2 separate regions of the Homo sapiens genome follow, and region 1 is linked to region 2. Evidence: promoter capture Hi-C in human tissues and cell types (Jung and others, 2019). All regions are on one chromosome and are shown on one strand. The core of a region is centred on a gene start or on the middle of the fragment in contact, and the rest is flanking DNA. Distances in the headings are between cores, read along the strand shown.

Region 1 (2,700 bases), core at 201-2,700, 63 kb before region 2:
TAGCCACTGCCCACTGCCTAGTGCCCATCCCAGTCCTGCCAAGTACTTATCCTACTGGATTTTTTCTTCCCTTAATGTTTTTTCATAGCATTTATGACTTTTGAATAGAGTATACTACGGTTCCCACCTTTTGCACTATGGACATTAGGAGTCAGATCATTCTTTGCTATGGGGGATGTCTTAGGCATTGTAGGGCTTTGCGCAGCATCCCTGGCCTCTACCCACTAGATGCCTGGAGCACACACACACACACACACACACACACACACACATTCTGTGACAACCAAAAGTGTCTCCAGACATAGCCAAATGTCCCCTGGTGGGCGTAATTGCCCCCAGCTGGGAACTACTATGCTATACAACTTATGTTTTCAATTATGTTTATTACGTTGAGTATGGAGTCTGTCTCCCCACACTTCTAGAATATTAGCTCCAAGAAGAGAGGAATTTGCTTATTTTACTCTCTGATGTGGCCCCAGTTCCAAGATCAATGCCTGGCATATGGCAGGTGCTCAATGTTTGTTGAAAGAATGCATGAACACTGAGTGTTTTTGATATGCCTGAAATGGTGCTAGGTAGACATGTATAACCTCATTGTCTTTATTTTTTTATTTTTTCAATTTTTGTTTTCATATATATATATATATATATATTTTTTTTTTTTTTTCAGAAATGAGGGTCTTGTTATATTGCCCAGGCTGGTCTGGTCTGGAACTCCTGGGCTCAGTGATCCTTCCATGTCGGCCTCCCAAAGTGCTGGGATTACAGGTGTGAGCCAGCAAGACTGTCTTGTTTCTTTATCATAGCATCTTTGTGAGAGAGGCCCATCGCTATCTCCTTTACAGTGGGGAAAACTAAGGCTTCTAGAAGCTACCTAGAACCCATACAGTGGTAGAGTCCTGCAGCTCCGCCGGCTACCTCCCTAACAAAACTGTTTGTTCCCTTCTGGTACAGAGGGACTGGATCAAGGTCAGGTTCAAACCCAGCCTCTGCAGGCACCTGCAGGGGAGTTGAGAAGGGACCTGAACTGGCCTGGGGGGCTATGCCTGAGGGGGCTTTCTCAGGAGCCAGCAGGGGTTACAATTTGGTCGGGTTCAGTGTGTCCCTCGCGGGATAAAACCCAGCCCCAGGCCCATAAGAGATGGTGACTAAGCTCCAAAGAGAAGCCTCCAGCCCCAGGCCCATAAGAGATGGTGACTAAGCTCCAAAGAGAAGCCTCCAGCACCAGCCTGGGGATGGAGCTGCAGTGGCCAGAACCAGGAGGCTGGAACCGCCCGGCCTCACTCCAGCCCAGCCCAGCCCAGCCTTGAAAGGGCCCAATCCTGTGATTGGTCCATGGGTTCCCGTTGCCAGGAATTAAGGCCAAGAAAATGGGAAGGAAGGAAGGGAGTGCGTAGGTCCAGTGAGAACAGGCGTGAAATTTATATCTCTGCCCAGGACTGGGTGCCTGCATCGCCATGGACACCACCAGGTACAGCAAGTGGGGCGGCAGCTCCGAGGAGGTCCCCGGAGGTATGAGCAAGGAGACTGCCCCATCCCTGCCCCAGTGTCTGGGGTTTGATGGGGGAGGGGAGGGAAGAGTCGAGACAGGCCAGGGTTGTGGGTGCAGGAGAGACACCACAGGCCATAGAGCCAGTTGGACCAGGGTCCAATTCCAACTCTGCCGCTTAGAAGCTGTGTGACCATAGGCAAGTTACTTAACTTCTCTGAATCTCAGTTTCCTGGGAGTAACTCAGGCCTCCAGGGCTCAGTTCTGGGGGACCCAGCATGCCGTCCTTGTTATGCCAGGGCCCTGGGGACGCTGGGTGCACTGGAGCAGGAGACCCCTCTTCTTGGCCCTGGCTGTCCTGGTCACCACAGTCCTTTGGGCTGTGATTCTGAGTATCCTATTGTCCAAGGGTGAGTGACTCTCAATGGGGAGGTGTTGCATCCGGCCCCCCTGGGGACAGAAAACCCCCACTGCATGGCGCACCAGCTGCATCCTGGGGTCCTGTTCGCGTCTGAGTGTGAGCAGAGTGTGTGTACATCTTTGGGCCGTGTGCACTCACGCGTGTGCACATGGCGTGCTCGTATGTGCGCGAGTCCCCGCGCGTTTGTCTCCCATCGGCGTGTGTGCACATCGTGTGAGCTGTATGCCTGCCCGCCCGCTCCGTGCTCCCGAGTTGGGGGACGCTGCACCCCCCGGGCGAGGGGAGGATTCCCGAGTTCCCGGCCTCGCCTGCAGGAGCCTCTCTCCTCAGCCTCCACGGAGCGCGCGGCGCTGCTTGACGGCCACGACCTGCTGAGGACAAACGGTGTGTGCAGAGCCGGGCGCCTGGGCCCCCGGGGCGTGAGGGGCGGGAGTTTCTGAGACCCCGGAGATGGAGTCTCGAGTGCGTGGGGGCCCTATGGTCCCTGAGGCTGGAAGGGGGTCCCCTGAGTCCTCCCAAGTGACCCGAGGGGCATGCATTTTGGGGCGGGGGTCGTTCCAGCCTCGAAGCAGACGGCGGCGCTGGGTGCCCTGAAGGAGGAGGTCGGAGACTGCCACAGCTGCTGTGAGGGGGCGCGGTCGAGGCTGTGGGCGCAGGGATGGGGTCTTGCGGCCGCGATGGGAGGGGGGCCGGGGCGGAGGCCTGCGGCGGGTGGTGCGGGGCGGGGGCTGGTCTCCGAAGTCCCGCCCCATCCTCGCCGCCCTCGCCCCTCTCACCCTGCGGCTCCCAG
Region 2 (3,126 bases), core at 316-2,815:
TTGGAGACCCCATAGGAGGAAGGGCGATGGGGCAGTAGAAAGTCGCGGTGTCCCCGCCCCCTCCAGCAGCTACGCGCCCCACTCTCTTGGAGACGCTAGATCAGTCCCTCCGGGCCTACTAAAGAAACCACGCAGGGCTCAGATCCGCTCCATCATCATCATCATCATCATCATCATCATCTCCAGGTTTATTTCCAGCTCCCCCGCAACCCCTCCGGACCTGGAGCCGCCTCCGCCCGCGCTGTGCACGCGCTGCGCGCGACCTCAGGGCTGCACACGACAGCAGCGCGCTCCGGTCCAGTCCATGCCCGCGCACTGGCAGTGACATGTGGTCTCGGCGCGCACATCCCACGAGCCACAGGCGGAGCCACAAGTGCAGCCGGTGACGGCGAAGCCTGCAGCCCGGAACACAGGAGCGTGGACTCTGAGCTGGGAGGCTGAGGGTGGGAGCGGGAGGGGGGTGGGGAGCGCGGAGGGGGGTTGGGGGGGCGGGGGTGGGGACGGGGACGGCTGGAGGCTCCAACCACTGAATGGGCACTGGAGGCAGGGAGTGAGGGTGGACACCAGTGTCCAGATGGTGGGCGGAGAAGGCTGGGAGTCAGGACCAAGATCCTAGGGGAGTAGAGGCTGGACACGGGGAACGTGGCGGGGAGGGGGCATTCCCAGGGGACTTGGAACAGAAATGGGCGCCTGGACAACAGTCTCCTGCACTCACCTCGGGGGCAAGTAGCCAGGTCCCCCCTGGAGGTGACGCTCTGGCACTCCAGGCCAATGCTGCTTATTGCCCTAAATACTGGGGGGCAGGAGGAAAGGAGACAGGGGGAGCTGTGAGACCAAACGGTCCCTCCCCCATCCTCCCCTAGCCCTGTTGGTTTGGAGCTAGGTCCCTGTGGGCATAGGAGCTCACTGGCCTCCAGGACCCTGTCTTGAGTTGGGTGTTTTGGAGTAAGGGAAGGTTTGGAGTGAGAGCGGGGATTGGGTTTGGAGCCGTGGATAAGGTGGGGACAGTCGGAGGGGTTGGGAGTGGAGTTGGGGTTGAATTTATGATCTGGTTGGATTTGAGGATGAGATTTGGTGAGCGCTGGGGCTGGGTTGGAGTCAGGTCTGTGCCAGGGATCAGTGAGGTCTCTGAGACCCTTGGGGAGCTTGCCCAAGTGGGGGGTCCTCACTTAGGGAGCCGGCGACCTCCTGGATCCTCTCATTGATGGCTTCTTCCATGGAGCACAGGGTCTTGCTAGACACCAACAGCCCCAGGACAGGGAGGAGGAGGAGACAGAGAGCTTTCATCCTGCAGGCGCTGAAAGAGGGAACCAAGAGACCCACAGCTGGATCAGCCCTGCCCTGTGGGGAAGATCCGGCCCATGGAGGGAGTAGGATCTGCCCCTGGACCTGGACCCCTGTCCCCCCATGTGGGGGACAGGGATGGAGGCTCAGCCTTGACCCCAGCCTCCCCGCTGGTGCCATGGCAAGCGCAGGAGCAGCTGTCACTTACCCTCTCGGTGGGCTCAGCTAACCAAATCCGGCACACGAATTCCTGCACCGCAGCTCTTTCTTTGAGGCCTCTTGGGGTGGGGCTTCCTGGCTTGGCTAATAAGTCCCTGGGCCCCCAACCCTCCGGTCCCACATCCGGGGCCAAGAGGAAGCCCCTGAGCAGACAGTAAGGGCTGGAGGAGGAAGGGAGCCTTCCCACTTCCAACAGGGCCTCCGTCTTCATGTCCAGAGACTGGTCAGGAGGTGGTGCCCCAGGGATAATGCCAGGGGCTGTGGTCTGAGGAACAGGTAGACAAGCAGAGTTTTGCATGCAAGGGTGGCTGATGCAAACATGACAAAATTAATGCCTCTTGCTAGGCATGGTGCGGACAAGCACTTGTAGTCCCAGCTACTAAGGAGGCTGACGTGAGAGAATTGCTTGAGCCCGGGAGTTCGAAGCTACAGTGACTTATGATCACAGCACTGCACTCCAGTCTGGGCAACAGAGCAAGACCACTTCTCTAAAATAGTAATAATAATTATGTCTCTGGGTGAGAATGACATACCACATTCATACCCAAATGCCCATGAGCAATAGAACTGGTAAATAAAATCATGGTTTATGGCCGGTGGCTCACGCCTGTAATCCCAGCACTTTGGGAGGCCAAGGCGGGCGGATCACTTGAGGTCAGGAGCTTGAGACCAACCTGGCCAACATGATGAAACCCTGTCTCCATTAGACATACAAAAATTAACTGGGCGTGGTGGCGTGTGCCTGTAATCCCAGCTACTTGGGAGGCTGAGGTGGGAGAATCACTTGAACCCGGGATGTGGAGGTTGCAGTGCACTGAGATCGTGCCCCTGCACTCCATCCTGGATGACTAGCTTGGGCACCATAGCAAGACTCCATCTCAAAAAGAAGAAAGAAAAATCATGGTTTATTCCATCAATGGCATCACCTGCAACAGAAGTTGGAAAGCCATTGCTCATGGGCCAAGGTCCAGCTCATGTTTCTTCTTGGACCACCCATGAGCTTGGAATGGTTATTACATTTTTATTTGTTCTTTGTTTCCAGTACAACGGGCCTTTTTGTGGTAAAATACATATAACATACAACTTACCATTATAACTTACTTTTTTCTTTTTTGAGACGGAATCTTGCTCTGTCGCCCAGGCTGGAGTGCAGTGGCGCGATCTCGGCTCACTACAAGCTCCGCCTCCTGGGTTCACGCCATTCTCCTGCTTCAGCCTCCCAAGTAGCTGGGACTACAGGCGCCTGCCACCACGCCCAGCTAATTTTTTGTATTTTTTTTTTTTTAGTAGAGATGGAGTTTCACCGTGTTAGCCAGGATGGTCTCGATCCCCTGACCTTGTGATCTGCCCGCCTTGGCCTCCCAAAGTGCTGGGATTACAGGCGTGAACCACCGTGCCCGGCCTTTTTTTTTTTTTTTTTGAGACGGGGTCTTGCTATGTTGCCCAAGCTAGTGTCAGACTCCTGGCTTCAAGTAATCCTCCCACCTTGGACTCCCCAGTAGCTGAAGCTACAGGTATGCACCATCTTGTTCCATTTTAACCATTGCTTTTGTTTGTTTCTTTGTTTCAGAGTCTCACTCAGTTGCTCAGGCTGGAGTACAGTGGCTCAATCTTGGCTCACTG

The links. Contacts are between HindIII fragments. The study calls those that stand out against the background at their distance.
Region 1: the fragment with the promoter of CLEC4G here is called in contact with the fragment with the promoter of RETN in region 2 in 1 of the 25 tissues and cell types used here (stomach).

The regions. Positions count from the first base shown.
Region 1 is chr19:7,730,860-7,733,559 of GRCh38, reverse strand. CLEC4G (C-type lectin domain family 4 member G) reads left to right here and starts at 1,450. Exons shown (of 9, transcript NM_198492.4): 1 at 1,450-1,512; 2 at 1,789-1,899; 3 at 2,241-2,294; 4 at 2,472-2,534. The coding sequence starts at 1,458. RefSeq lists a cis regulatory region at 1,376-1,385 and promoters at 1,192-1,455, 1,143-1,455, 849-1,455. The HindIII fragment of the contact is 14,896 bases long and covers 1-2,700 here.
Region 2 is chr19:7,667,488-7,670,613 of GRCh38, reverse strand. It overlaps RETN (resistin), which reads right to left and starts at 1,565. Exons shown (of 4, transcript NM_020415.4): 1 at 1,493-1,565; 2 at 1,170-1,297; 3 at 716-793; 4 at 159-395. The coding sequence starts at 1,287. The coding sequence ends at 265. The HindIII fragment of the contact is 23,719 bases long and covers 1-3,126 here.